Linked DNA regions of Homo sapiens: all the other regions are linked to region 1. The links are contacts of gene promoters, found by promoter capture Hi-C in blood cells and fetal thymus (Javierre and others, 2016). All regions are on one chromosome and are shown on one strand. Each heading gives the region's core, a stretch centred on a gene start or on the middle of the fragment in contact. The rest is flanking DNA. Distances are from core to core; before and after follow the strand shown. Region 1 holds the start of AKR1A1 (aldo-keto reductase family 1 member A1). Region 2 overlaps PTCH2 (patched 2). Region 3 has its middle 1.8 kb from the start of POMGNT1. Region 4 has its middle 3.2 kb from the start of EIF2B3. Region 5 overlaps ZSWIM5 (zinc finger SWIM-type containing 5).

Region 1 (2,699 bases), core at 101-2,600:
AATAAATAAATGGATGGCTACTTCCATGTACTGATAGCATGTGCACATCACTACATTTTTCTGTTTATATATAAATTTCCCCCACAAACCTGGCTACTCCTTGAGGTCTGAGCCTGTCATCTGCCTGAACCCCTCACTCCTAGAGTACCTGTCCCATACATACATACATACATACATACATACATACATACATACAATGTACACAATACACACACCACACACACACAGCTTATGGGGGAGAGATCTTGACAGGTTGAGTTTGGCCAGCTGGAAGGACATTTGAGGAAGTCGCTGCCTCTGTCACCTTCTTCCTTTACCTGTTGGAAAACCTGAAAAGAATCCTCTTGGAGAATATCAAAGCACTTTACTATACTCGGCAAAAAATCCCAGTGGACCAGATAGAATCATACTGAGATTGCTCCTGTATTAAAGATAAGGAAACAGATCTTGGAAAAGTAACAGGCCTGCAGCCCTGAGTATGAACGATCTGAAGGGGAAGAGTTAATTAACAGTAGCCTCATCCAGTGAAGGTTCAGATCTGTGTCTTACTTTAACAGAGTTCTGGGGCAACAGAATAACATGTCAGACTTTCTCAGACCCAAAGCAGGTGTCTAAGTAAGAGAATTATCCCCACTTCTCCCCACTTCTGAGAACTATCCCTGCACCTGCATAAGAAAGCCGGAGCAGCTGGAAAAAGCACATAGGTGAGCAAACAAAAAGATGGCAATTAAAACTTGCAGATCACCTAGTATGCGCTGTGCGCCTTCAAAGCTTTATCTCAATTCTTGCTACAGTTCTAATGTAGGACCTCATTTTATTGCTGAGGAAACAGGTTCAGAGAAACTGGGAAGTTAGCAAGAGATCATACAGAGAAAAAGAAGAGCTCAAATCCGAAACCAAGTCTCGTCCCCTCCAGTGCTCTGCGCTCTCCACTCAACCCCAGGGGCTTACATTTCAGTAGTAAAGAATCGAGGCCATCTCCTCCGGGAGAAAGATAGGCCAGCAGCAAGAGAAACTCACCTTGGCACAAGCACAGAGCGTGAATAGGGTACTGTGGCCTGGGCTCAGTTCTGCACCCCGCCAGAGATCCAACGATCCTCAGCTTAAGTCTGGCGGTGAGGGGGAAGTTCCACCCGGAGGGAGGGGCAGGGGCCGGGCATAAAGGATCACGCGCAGGGTGGACCGCCTTCGCCGCCTCCCGAGGAAGGACCTGAAGGGGATGGAAAACAGAGCTGGGAGGTAGTACCGTCTCCACCTCTGGATCCTCGAGGTCGAACTGGCCGGAACTTGGTCACTCACTCCGCAGCGCGGGTTTGGAGAACTCCTGGGCACAATGAGGCAGGTGGCGCTGGCCACGTGGGCGGTGCAAGGGGCGGGGCCAGCCTCGCCTTTTGCTGGCCCACATTGCACCGCGCGCCTAGGCGCCGCCGCAGGCGCTTTTCCGGGGGAAGTAAGGTAGCAGATGCCACGTTGCAGGTTCTTCTGGTGTCGGCCCTCCGGATTCACAATGCCATCCGTGGCTCCATACTCTCCCTAAAGTCAGGTTGGCTGGATTCCCAAAGTTCACCTAAGTTGGCCCCGTTACATTTAGTTCAAGCAAACTGAGGCCCAGAGAGCAGCTGCAACACCAAGATTGGCCAGAATACAGAAGACCTCGCGTCTGCAGATCCAGGCGCTGGAAAGTGCCTGGTCCCCCTGTCTGGACCATAGACCCCGCCCAGCACGTTATGTGCCAGGCACTGTGCTTAACACTTAATAAACATGGTTTTATTGAATCTTCATAATAATCCTGGAAAAGGAATATTCCTTTTTTTTTTTTTTTTTTGAGACGGAATCTCGCTCTCGCCCAGGCTGGAGTGCAGTGGCGCGATCTTGGCTCACTGCAACCTCCGCCTCCCTGGTTCAAGCAATTCTCTGCCTCAGCCTCCCGAGTAGCTGGGATTACAGGCGCCCGATACCACGCCTGGCTAATTTTTTTGTATTTTTTAGTAGAGACGGGGTTTCGCCATCTTGGCCAGGCTGGTCTTGAACTCCTGACCTCGTGATCCACCCGCCCTGGACTCCCAAAGTGCTGGGATTACAGGAGTGAGCCACTGCGCCTGGCCGAAAAGGAATATTCTTTTATTTCGTACAAGCCTTTTTAAAAATCGTAGTATAGCATATATACAGAAAATACACCAGTCTTTTTTTTTTTCTTTTTCTTTTTTTCCTATTCTACATCCAGGAAGAAAGAAAATGTATAAATCTTAAATGTATACAGTTCTTTTTTTTAAATTATTTTTTGCAATGTAACTGCCATCCAGAGGAAGATATTACCAGCACACCATAAGCCTGTGAGGAAAGTATTCATAATCCATTTTACAGATTGGACAGACTCAGCAAGGTTAAGGCTATTTATAATTTTCCCAAAGTCACACAGGTATTAATTAAATGACACATCTGCGATTTGAAATAGTCTGTGCTGTTTGAGTGGAGAGGTGTCTTGCATGTATGTGTTTTCCTTGGCAGGGATGGGCAAGACACAGGGTTATCTCGGTTTGGCTCTGCTTTTCCCCACACCTTTACTCCCTGAGAGCAACTCTTCCCATTTCCCCACCCCCGTTATCCCCCACTGTCTCCCCAACATAAGTGATGTCCTGGTGGACCAAATGTCTAATGTATCAGGCCATCCTCATAAAAACAATCAGACTTGGCCGGGT
Region 2 (2,699 bases), core at 115-2,614, 720 kb after region 1:
TGACGATCTCAGATGGGGCTTGAGTCTCAGAGAAGCAGTACGTTTGGGTCCCAGCAGGCAGCAAAGACTAACAGGAGGAGACCCCCAGACAGGTGGAAACAGCGCAGGGTCTGAGATCAGACCAAATCCGCAAAGCCTCCAGAGGTAGATTTGGCCCTCACTCTTCCCCACATCATAGTTAGGTGATAGCCCCTCACAATGTCCCCACCTCCCCCAGGTCCCAGTTACAGAGCAGGAGCCTGTGGCCAGCATAACGCAGGACTGGAGGGGCGCTAAGATCCAGGACACTATGGCAGGCCTGGCGCCGGGAATCCCTGTGGTCTGGACAGTGAGGGCGGTGAAAAGGATCTGGACACCTCCCTCCCCTTGGCCCACTTTGATTTCACCCCTGCCAGGGTTCGTGAGCTGATTCCATGCACTTTCTGCCTGAGTGGGAGCAGCACACTGAATGACTGTCCCATCCTCCCTCTCCCCCACACCAACACAGGGCCCATTATTATCACCCATTATTATCAGACACTCCTATCCCTGCCCTCTCCTTAGGACACTTTGCAGAAAGGTGTGTGGATATAAATCACTGCCCAGAGCAACCTGAACTAAGAACCAGCCCTAGCCCTACACCTGTTCTTTTAGGAAACCCTCCTAGCAGCAGCCTCCCTATTGGCCCCTATTGGCCCTCCTTGTCCTCCCCACCAGAACAGAGAGGGACTGAGCGAGGGTTCCCTTACCAAGATGCCCCTACAACCCCCACAGCCCACGGCCAGCTCATGCTGATTGTCATTTTTAAGTTTACACCCAAAACCCAGCCAACCTGGTTCATGCTTAAGCCCTAGACCACACAAGAAATCCGCAGAGCCACACAACCGAGGCTTCTCCACTTCCCTGGCAGAGCTCCAGGACCCAGAAGCCTGGGGAGTCGGCCTGGGCCATGACCAGGCCCTCAGGGATAAGGCAGGGACTCCTCTCTGCCGCACCTCTCCCACTTGTCTGGGGAGGCCTCAGAGTTAGAAGCCCCCTTCCCAAGTTCTGACCCGCCTAGGCCCTTTCCCCCCCAGCTTTCTCTGTTTGCTCTGGCAGTGGGCAGCCGGGTGAGCCAGGAGCTGCATTACACCAAGGAGAAGCTGGGGGAGGAGGCTGCATACACCTCTCAGATGCTGATACAGACCGCACGCCAGGAGGGAGAGAACATCCTCACACCCGAAGCACTTGGCCTCCACCTCCAGGCAGCCCTCACTGCCAGTAAAGTCCAAGTATCACTCTATGGGAAGTGAGTCTGGCTGAGCCCCTGAGCAGCTGGGGGCGAGGCGTGCTGTGGGGGTTCTGGAGTGGGAATCCCCTTCTTCTGCTGATCTCCTATGCCCCTGGCTATTGCAGGTCCTGGGATTTGAACAAAATCTGCTACAAGTCAGGAGTTCCCCTTATTGAAAATGGAATGATTGAGCGGGTAAGTGTCCTGAGAGGGAGTAGAGGCAGAACTTTTTCTGTAGCGTGGGAGGACTCAGAGACCGAGCAAGCCCCACAGCCTGCAATCTGCCCCCTTAAAACTAAGGAGGGGGATTGCAGAGGGCATCCTACAAAGGTTGTGGGGCAGGACTGACGTGGCCCGGGGTATCCCTGGCAGATGATTGAGAAGCTGTTTCCGTGCGTGATCCTCACCCCCCTCGACTGCTTCTGGGAGGGAGCCAAACTCCAAGGGGGCTCCGCCTACCTGCCGTGAGTGCCACTCCTGGGGCCCTGCTTCATCTCCCGCTGGGGACTCTCCCAGCAGAAAGGAGGGGTCTGGGGAATGAGGATGATCAAAACCTTACCAAGGTCCTAATTACCTCCCAGGCCAGGAACAGAGAGCATGGGCTTCCCCAAGGCTCTCTCCACATCCTCCTTCTCTTTCCCTCTCAAGGAAGGAAGACCTGACTTATTTACACAAAACTAAACACAAAGATCTGTAAGATCTGAGCAAAGGAGAAAAAGATCCCCACAAAGAGGCTTTGCTGGGGGAAATTACCTAGGTGTTTGCTAAGCCATTGCCCAGGCCAGAAAGAAAACCTGCTACAGGCATGTGCCTGCTGGTTGTATATTAGAACCAAGCACACAGCTTGGTAAGGAACTCAGTGGGGCCTTTCTGGGCCCTTTCTATGTATTAGGTAACCCTGCCCTGATATTCGTCTCAGCCCCTTGTACTCTTCTACAGCTCACTGTAGCACCCTGGTGGGCCCATGCAGCCTGGCAGTTCTGAGAAGCTGAGGCTTGCACACCCTCCATATGGAAGGACAAATCGGCAGATAAGAGGAGGGTGGGGTACAGCATGGCGCCCCAGCAGCAGTTTGGAGCCTGGGTTTTCGTCCCTGACCCTCACCAACTATAGGCTTTTCCCTCAGCGGCCGCCCGGATATCCAGTGGACCAACCTGGATCCAGAGCAGCTGCTGGAGGAGCTGGGTCCCTTTGCCTCCCTTGAGGGCTTCCGGGAGCTGCTAGACAAGGCACAGGTGGGCCAGGCCTACGTGGGGCGGCCCTGTCTGCACCCTGATGACCTCCACTGCCCACCTAGTGCCCCCAACCATCACAGCAGGCAGGTGGGTTCCAACCAGGTCTGCCAGGGAAAGGCTGTTTTCCTTCCCTTTCCCTTCCTCATACTCCTGTGTTCTGGGGGAGCTGACTGCTCTGTGCCCTGACCCCCCACTTCCTGGCCATTATTACCCTG
Region 3 (2,699 bases), core at 200-2,699, 650 kb before region 1:
CAGCCTCCTGAGTAGCTGGGATTACAGGCACGTGCCACCATGCCCGACTAATTTTTGTATTTTTAGTAGAGACGGGGGTTTCACCATGTTGGTCAGGCTGGTCTCGAACTCTTGACCTCGTGATCTGCCTGCCTCAGCCTCCCAAAGTGCTGGGATTACAGGTGTGAGCCACTGCGCCCGGCCTGGCACTACATATTTCTATCACTCTTTTTAGTTCATCTAAGGTTACCTTTGTAATTAACTTTTTTTAAAATTTAGATAGAGTCTCGCTATGTTGCCCAGGCTGGTCTCGAACTCCTGGCCTCAAGCAATCCTCCCACCTTAGCCTCCCAAAGTGCTGGGATTACAGGCATGAGCCACCATGCCTGGCCTACCTTTATAATTTTAAGTAACATCATTTTCCTTGGTACTTTTTGATCCATGGAAGGGTTTTAAGTTAGAGATAGACAAAACATTTGTCTTTTTTTTTTGAGACAGAGTCCGGCTCTGTTGCCCAGGCTGGAGTGCAGTGGCACCATCTTGGCTCATTGCAACTTCTGCCTCCCAGGTTCAAGCCATTCTCCTGCCTCAGCCTCCTGAGTAACTGGAATTACAGGCACCTGCCACAACACCCAGCTAATTCTTGTATTTTTAGTAGAGACGGGGTTTCACCATGTTGGCCAGGCGGATCCATCCGCCTCAGGTGATCCACCCGCCTTGGCCTCCCAAAGTGCCGGGATTACAGGCATGAGCCACCGAACCCGGCAACATTTGCCTTAAAGAAAATCACTCTGGATTTTGCAAGGAGAAAAGGATAGGAGGAGTAAAAATCTAGAGTCAAGGAGACTGGCTGGAAAGCAAGAAACTGAAATGGCCTGCACTGGGGCTGATTGTGAGGTCAAAGAAGAATTAGACTAGAATGGAAGGCTCTTTAGGAGGTAAGACTGACAGGACTAGGTGACTGGTTACATTCATTTATAGTGGCATTCAATAAAAATTTGTTAAAAAATACAAATGAATGATTTCAACAAATGTTACGGAGAGCTTACTATGTGCCAGCCTTTGTGTGTGGTGTAGAGAATACAATGGTGAGCAAGACATACCTGGACTGGTCACTGGAGACAGACAAGGAGTCAAGGGTGACTCCCAGCTGTTTGGCCTGGTGCAGTTCACTGAGGAGGGGAACCCACAGGAAATCTAGGAGTGAAAGGAAATGATTCCAGAAGTTGTGCTGTTGCGTTAGAGGGGCCTGTGAAGATGTCCTGCTGGACATCAGGCAGCCTGGAGCTCAGGAAAGAGGTTAGAACTGCCAATGTCAGTTTGGGCATCTAGATTGGTAACAGAGGTCATGAGAGAATGAGATCATCCATGAAGAGTCAGTTTGAGGAGAAAAGAGGGTCAGGAAGGAACCCTGAGGGACATCTTTTAATTATTTATTTTTATTTTTTTATTTTTTGAGACGGAGTCTTGCTCTGTCACTCAGGCTGGAGTGCAGTGGTGCAATCTCAACTGCAACTTCTGTCTCCCAGGTTCAAGCGATTCTCCTGCTTCAGCCTCCTGAGTAGCTACGATTATAGGCGCCTGTCACCACGCCCAGCTAACTTTTGTATTTTTAGTAGAGACGGGGTTTCACCGCGTTGGGCAGGCTGGTCTCAAACTCCTGACCTCAACTGACCACCCCACCTCGGCCTCCCAACCTGCTGGGATTACGTGAGTCATGGTGCCCAGCCGGGACATCTTTTCAAATGTAATAAAATGTGTTGGGTTTTCTTCCATTCTTATACATACTTACTAGGAAAAATCATGTATTTCTTTAACTCCTAAGACAAGTACTGTTAACATTTCATTTTGGGGGATATTACCCCACCATTCAGGAAGCAGATGGAATACAGAAAGCTCAAAAAAATCTAACTGGTCTTCTGGCTTCCTCTGTCTGCTTCCAACCCATTCTCCACAAAAAAAGTAAAGGTTCTCTTAAAACAGAAATTGGATTATATTGCTCCCCTGCCTAAAACTGTTCTATGGCTATCCACTTCAAACAAGCATCAACATCACCTAGAAACTTCTCAGGAATGCAAAATCCCACCCTGCCCCAGACCACTGAATCTAAAACTCTAGGGATGGGGCCCAGCACCTCTGTTTTAAGAAGTCATCCAGGTGATTCTGACGCAAGCTAAAGTTTGAGAACCATTGTGTTAAGCTAACTGCTTTCTATGTATGATGTTATTTAAACCTGGCAATTCTTATGTATTGTTGCCAGCAGAGTGCAGTGGTTAAGAGCAGAATCTGGAGCTAGGCTGAGTTTCAATTCCACCTCTCCTAGCTTTGTGATATTAGGTCTTATTTCTTTATCTGCGACAGGGATAGTAATAGCGCCTATAGCCAGCACGGTGGCTCACTGCCCATAATCCCAGCACTTTGGGAGGCCAAGGCGGGCGGATCACTTGAGGTCAGAAGTTCAAGACCAGCCTGGCCAACATGGTGAAACCCCGTCTCTACTAAAAATATAAAAATTAGCTGGGTGTGGTGGCGCACGACCGTAGTCCCAGCTACTCAGGAGGCTGAGGCAGGAGAATCGCTTGAACCCAGAAGGCGGAGGTTGCAGCGAGCCGAGATGGTGCCACTGCACTCCAGCCTGGGCGACAGAGCGAGACTCCGTCTCAATTAAAAAAAAAACAATAATAATGATAATAGCGCCTACCTCATGGGGTTGTTGTGGA
Region 4 (2,699 bases), core at 102-2,601, 560 kb after region 1:
ATGTGATTTTAAAATATTGTATAATGAGTCAATGTTAGGAAGATCTGCATAACTCTGTGAACGAATATTTTACATATTATTTGTATACCAAGTTGCAAGGTCATGCATGGGTAAAATGTCCATTCAAAGTGCAAGTACTGTAACAAGGTACAAAATGTTCATTGATATAATTTCCGATTCTACATTGCAACAAACCTTTAACAAACTACCACTTATTGAATTTTGGTATAGTGTCAAAGAATACCTATAATTATCTGAAAAGGCTATTAAAAGCTCTATCTCTTACCAACTATGTATCTATGTGAAGTCACATTTTTATGATATAATTAAACCAAAATAATATATTACAATAATGGAAAAATCAAGCTGTTTTCTATTAAGCCAGACCCTAAAGAGACTATTCAAAAAGGTGAAACAATGGCATTCATCTCACTAAACTTTTTGTTTTGAAAATGTAGTTGGCCAGGCACAATGGCTCATGCCTGTAATCCCAGCACTTTGGGAGGTCAAGGCGGGCGGATCACCTGAGGTCAGGAGTTTGAGACTAGCCTGACCAACATGGAGAAACCCCGTCTCTACTATAAATACAAAATCAGCTGGGTGTGGTGGCGCATGCCTGTAAATTCCAGCTACTTGGGAGGCTGAGGCAGGAGAATCGCTTGAACCCGGGAGGCAGAGGTTGCAGTGAGCTGAGATCGTGCCATTGCACTCCAGCCTGGGCAACAAGAGCAAAACTCCGTGTCAAAAAAATAATTTTTTTTCGATATGGTAAATATTGATAAATATAATCCATATAAACAAAAGCTTTCTGGGGTCCTCAGTAATTTTTAAGTATGAAGAGTCTAGAGATGAAAAAGTTTGAGAATTGTTGCCCTCAGGGAATAATTTAAAGTGAGTTTAAACTGAAGCAATCTCTCAACTACTTTCCACAATAGAAGAGAAAACCCTCTAGTTCGTTGAAAAACATTTGCTAGTTTAAACATAAGGATTTGAAATGGATGGCAGATATGGGGCTGACTGCTCTTCTTACTTATAATTAGTTCTTACCTCAAACCCATGCTGTAATTTCCAAGTCTTGGTTGAGGTAATACCAAAGAGAGAATATCTCTGTGTTTCTATAGAGGGGTAGTCAGACTTCAGGCCTCCTGTGGCCAGATCAGTCAGTTCATGGCAAGGCAAAGATAGGCTGGTTTTAGGATATGAGTCCCCCCCTTTTTTTTTCAGGGTCTAAGCAGACCTCCTTCTGGAAAAAATGACAAGTCCTAATCATTAACTGCTGTATCTGCAACACCAAGCATCTAAGACACTGCTTGGCACATATTAGGCACTCAAGATATTGTTGAAGCCAGTCCTCCATGGCACATACCTGTAGTCCTAGCTACTTGGGAAGCTGAGGCAAGACGATCGTTGAGCCCAGGAGTTTGAGTCCAGCCTGGGCAGCATAAGCTGACCTCATTTCTAAAAATAAATGAATAAATATTGTTGAATGAAGTCAAGCTCCTTTATTTTTATTACAGAAATCATGCTCTACCTTTTAACTGGCAGGAAGCTAAAGCAACTCAAGATTTAAGAGATGAATCAGGCTGGGCACGGTGGCTCACGGCTGTGTCCCAGCACTTTGGGAGGTCGAGGCGAACAGATCACGAGGTCAGGAGTTCAAGACCATCCTGGCCTATCTGATGAAACCCCTTGTCTACTAAAAATACAAAAATTAGCCAGGCGTGGTGGCGCATGCCTGTAGTCCCAGCTACTCGGGAGGCTGACGCAGGAATCACTTGAACCCAGGAGGCAGAGGTTGCAGTGAGCCAAGATTGTGCCACTGAACTCCAGCCTGGTGACAGAGTGAGACTGTCTCAAAAAAAAAAAAAAATTAATTAATCGAAAAAAAAGGAAGCTTTCAAAAGATTAGGAAATTGCAGGAATGCATGGGAAAAAGAGAATGGCCATTGGTCCTGTTATCTAGTGCAACTTGATAAACCACTCCAAACCGTAGAGCTTAGAACAACAATTATTTTATTATCTATTCGTCATTTTTTAATATTTATTTTATTTACTTAGAGATCCTGTCTCTTTGTTACCCAGGCTGAAGTGCAGTGATACCATATTGGCTCACTGCCACCTCTGCCTCTTGGGCTCCAGCGATCCTCCTGCCTCAGCCTTCCAAGTAGCTGGAACCCCACAGCGCGGCACCACACCTGACTAATTTTTGTATTTTTAGTAGAGAGGGTGTTTCACTACGTTGCCCAGGCTAGTCTCGAACTCCTGGGCCCAAGGGATCCATCCGCCTCACTTCCTAAACTTCTGGGATTACAAGCGTGAGCCACCGCACCTGGCCTATTATTGTTTTGTTAAAAGCAGGGTCTCGGCTTTGCAAATGCAGCCACCGACGCCAGGAGCTCTGTACGATCAGCCATGGTTAACCCCACCGTGTTCGACATCGCTGTCGACGGCAAGCCCTTGGGCCGCGTGTCCTTCGAGCCGTTTGCAGACAAGGTTCCAAAGGCAGCAGAAAACTTTCGTGCTCTGAGCAATGTAGAGAAAGGATTTGGTTATAAAGGTTCCTGCTTTCACAGAATTATTCCAGGGTTTATGTGTCAGGGTGGTGACTTCACATGCCATAATGGCACTGGTGGCAAGTACACCTGCGGGGAGAAATTTGATGACGAGAGCTTCGTCCTAAAGCATACACATCCTGGCAT
Region 5 (2,699 bases), core at 148-2,647, 530 kb after region 1:
TTGCCTTTGAGGCAGCCTACCAGATTGCCATTGATGCTGCTGCTGGTGGTATGACCCATTCACAGCTGTTCACCATCGCCCGCTACATGGAGCTCCGTGGCTACCCGCTACGTGCCTTCAAGCTGGCCTCATTGGCCATGAGCCATCTTAACCTGGCCTACAACCAGGATACTCACCCAGCCATCAATGATGTGCTCTGGGCTTGTGCTCTCAGCCACTCTCTGGGCAAGAATGAGCTGGCAGCTCTCATCCCCCTGGTGGTGAAGAGTGTGCACTGTGCCACAGTGCTTTCAGACATCTTACGACGCTGCACAGTGACTGCACCTGGCCTGGCCGGCATCCCAGGCCGCCGAAGCTCTGGAAAGCTCATGTCCACTGACAAAGCTCCATTGCGCCAGTTGCTGGATGCCACCATCAATGCCTATATCAACACTACACACTCACGCCTAACACACATCAGCCCTCGCCACTATGGAGAGTTCATTGAGTTTCTAAGCAAGGCTCGGGAGACCTTCCTGCTGCCCCAGGATGGCCACCTGCAGTTTGCCCAGTTCATCGACAACCTCAAACAGATCTACAAAGGCAAGAAAAAGTTGATGCTGCTGGTGCGAGAGCGCTTTGGCTGAGAGAGCAGATAGCTCACTGCCAGAGCAGCCTGGGTTCCCAGGTAGTATCAGGTCAGGCCAAGGGCACTGAAACATTTGTCCACCCTGAGAGAACTCTGAGCACCTGTGGATGAGGCCAAAGGACCACAGGGCTAAGGATGGGGAAAGTCCAGCTCTAGTCGATAATGCCTACCTTGGCAAGCTTCTGACTACAGCCTACTGTTCATGGAGGAGCTGGGCCCTGCAGATCGACCAGAAACCCCACAACATGCCACCTCATGCCCCTATATCCTGCGTGTCCTGAGCATTGGCCCTGTCTCCCTTGGCAAACACAGAACACTGTTCCATCTCAGGGATTGCTTAACCAGAGAAACAGACACATTTGTGGGACTGTAAATACTATATGTGTTGCTAATTATTGTAAACTTGTAACTATTTATAATTCTGCTTCTGATTTGATGGGCACTTGAAGTAGCTGTGGGTAGGAGGATATGCTTATTTTCTGAGGAGACTCACAACCATTTCTCAGGTTTCCCTTGCAGAGTGTTTGCTGGTAGCAGTGGAAGAGTGGGGGTGCCAAGGAGAAAAATGGCCAGTTAGGATCAACCCAAGTCTAGTCTATGCAGAATCCCCCACCTACAGACAGGGCATTTATAGTCCAGTGGTGAGTGAGGGACAGAGGCCAGGACTGGACTTAGACTTTTGCCTCACAAAACTGTGAGGACATTGAAGCTCCTGCCTCACACAGCCTCTTCAGGAGCCTGCTGAACACCTGAGAAACAAGTGCAGGGAGAAGATGAAGGTCTGGGAAGCCGCTGAGTTCATAATATTCATCTACTGTGGTCACCTTTGTGTTAGCAAGTGTGTGGTTTCATCTATAATTGTGTGTGTGTATCTTTATGGCTAAGTACATGTGTGTATGTACATAGATACATCTGTGCATGCCTGTTTGTGCACATATATATTTATGTGTATGTGTCAGTTCTATGGCTGTGTACCTGTTTGAATATGTGCACACTGGACTGTGAGTTTCTACGTGAGGATATACACATTTTGTGTACATGTGAGGATGCACATCTTTGTGCAAATGCACTCATGTTTGTGCATGTTTAGTATGTGTATCTGCGTACACGAGTGCATGTGTATAAACATGTTTGTATCCATGTGTATGCTTGTTATCCATGCATCTGTGTCTTTATATGTGTAACTGAGCGTATTTCTACATGTAGGGATGTCTGTGTATTCATGTTTGAGGATCTGCATCAATGTGTCCTTTTTGCCAGATTTCTCTTTCCCATTCCTCTTAAATCTCTCTCGCCAGCTAAACGTTTGTTCCCCATCTCTGTGCCTCCTCTATTCATTCTCTCACCAAACAAGCTTCTAAGCACCAATCTCCCTCTGCCATCAGATTGGCTGCTTTAGCTCCATAGTTCTCTTCTCGCCTCATACTTGCTTTCTTCCCCTGCCTTTCTACCTCAAGCTTCCTCGCCGGCTTTTGTCACAGTCTCATTGCTCGCTGACTTGGAGGCTAGGGCTGGTCTGCACTTAGCCTCTCCCTTCCTAATTTCTAGCCCTAGTGGGCAGTCCTGTCTTAGCCCTGGCTGACCTCCATAGTGTATCATGTTCCTGCTACCTTCCTGACCCCTGTGCTCAGCCTGGAATTGTTATAGGAGGTAGCAAGGGCACTCAGAAAAGTCAGTTGGAACCAGTGTCTTGGTGTTTACTGTTTCATGTCTTAGTTCCTGAGTTGGGGGTGGGGTTTGATAGGGAAGGGGTGGTATAGCTAGAATGTGAACTAAGAACTTCTCCATCTGCTTTACTTTTTCTTTCTTCGACAAACTGTCACCTTTTTTACTCCAAACTGACCAAGAAGTTGTATTTGCCATTTGTGGCTACTCAAGTCTTACTGTCCAGCCAAGGGCCCCTACGTCTCAGCCCAATGGGTTGGTTAAAAAAAAGAGAGAAGCCACTCTCATTTCTGTATCACAGTTGCCCTTTTTTAGCAAGTGTGTGAATTCACAGTGCTTTTCTATGAATAAATCATGGATCACATAAAAGATCATTTTTCTAAAAGCAGAAATTGTGTTCTCTCAC

What was found. Contacts are between HindIII fragments. The CHiCAGO score rates a contact against its expected background, and 5 or more counts as called.
Region 2: a fragment that was not itself captured here is called in contact with the fragment with the promoter of AKR1A1 in region 1 in 1 of 17 cell types (naive B cells); the score reaches 5.5 in naive B cells.
Region 3: a contact is called between a fragment that was not itself captured here and the fragment with the promoter of AKR1A1 in region 1, in 1 of 17 cell types (fetal thymus). The highest score is 5.3, in fetal thymus.
Region 4: a contact is called between a fragment that was not itself captured here and the fragment with the promoter of AKR1A1 in region 1, in 5 of 17 cell types (activated CD4 T cells, naive B cells, fetal thymus and 2 more). The highest score is 7.3, in activated CD4 T cells.
Region 5: a fragment that was not itself captured here is called in contact with the fragment with the promoter of AKR1A1 in region 1 in 9 of 17 cell types (fetal thymus, naive B cells, neutrophils and 6 more); the score reaches 12.4 in fetal thymus.

Annotation. Positions count from the first base shown.
Region 1 is chr1:45,549,477-45,552,175 of GRCh38, reverse strand. AKR1A1 (aldo-keto reductase family 1 member A1) reads right to left here and starts at 1,350. Exons shown (of 9, transcript NM_153326.3): 1 at 1,021-1,350. RefSeq lists enhancers at 878-1,097, 1,328-1,557, 1,608-1,667. The HindIII fragment of the contact is 4,529 bases long and covers 774-2,699 here.
Region 2 is chr1:44,830,720-44,833,418 of GRCh38, reverse strand. PTCH2 (patched 2) reads left to right here. Exons shown (of 22, transcript NM_003738.5): 3 at 1,078-1,267; 4 at 1,375-1,444; 5 at 1,622-1,713; 6 at 2,376-2,571. Among named protein-coding and RNA genes, the nearest start is that of PTCH2, 11 kb to the left of the region's middle. The HindIII fragment of the contact is 7,207 bases long and covers 1-2,699 here.
Region 3 is chr1:46,198,902-46,201,600 of GRCh38, reverse strand. It overlaps a transcript of POMGNT1 not described here. Among named protein-coding and RNA genes, the nearest start is that of POMGNT1, 1.8 kb to the right of the region's middle. The HindIII fragment of the contact is 5,315 bases long and covers 1-2,699 here.
Region 4 is chr1:44,988,439-44,991,137 of GRCh38, reverse strand. It overlaps the pseudogene PPIAP35. Among named protein-coding and RNA genes, the nearest start is that of EIF2B3, 3.2 kb to the right of the region's middle. The HindIII fragment of the contact is 1,090 bases long and covers 807-1,896 here.
Region 5 is chr1:45,016,381-45,019,079 of GRCh38, reverse strand. ZSWIM5 (zinc finger SWIM-type containing 5) reads left to right here. Exons shown (of 14, transcript NM_020883.2): 14 at 1-2,681. The coding sequence ends at 626. Among named protein-coding and RNA genes, the nearest start is that of UROD, 5.5 kb to the right of the region's middle. The HindIII fragment of the contact is 1,175 bases long and covers 810-1,984 here.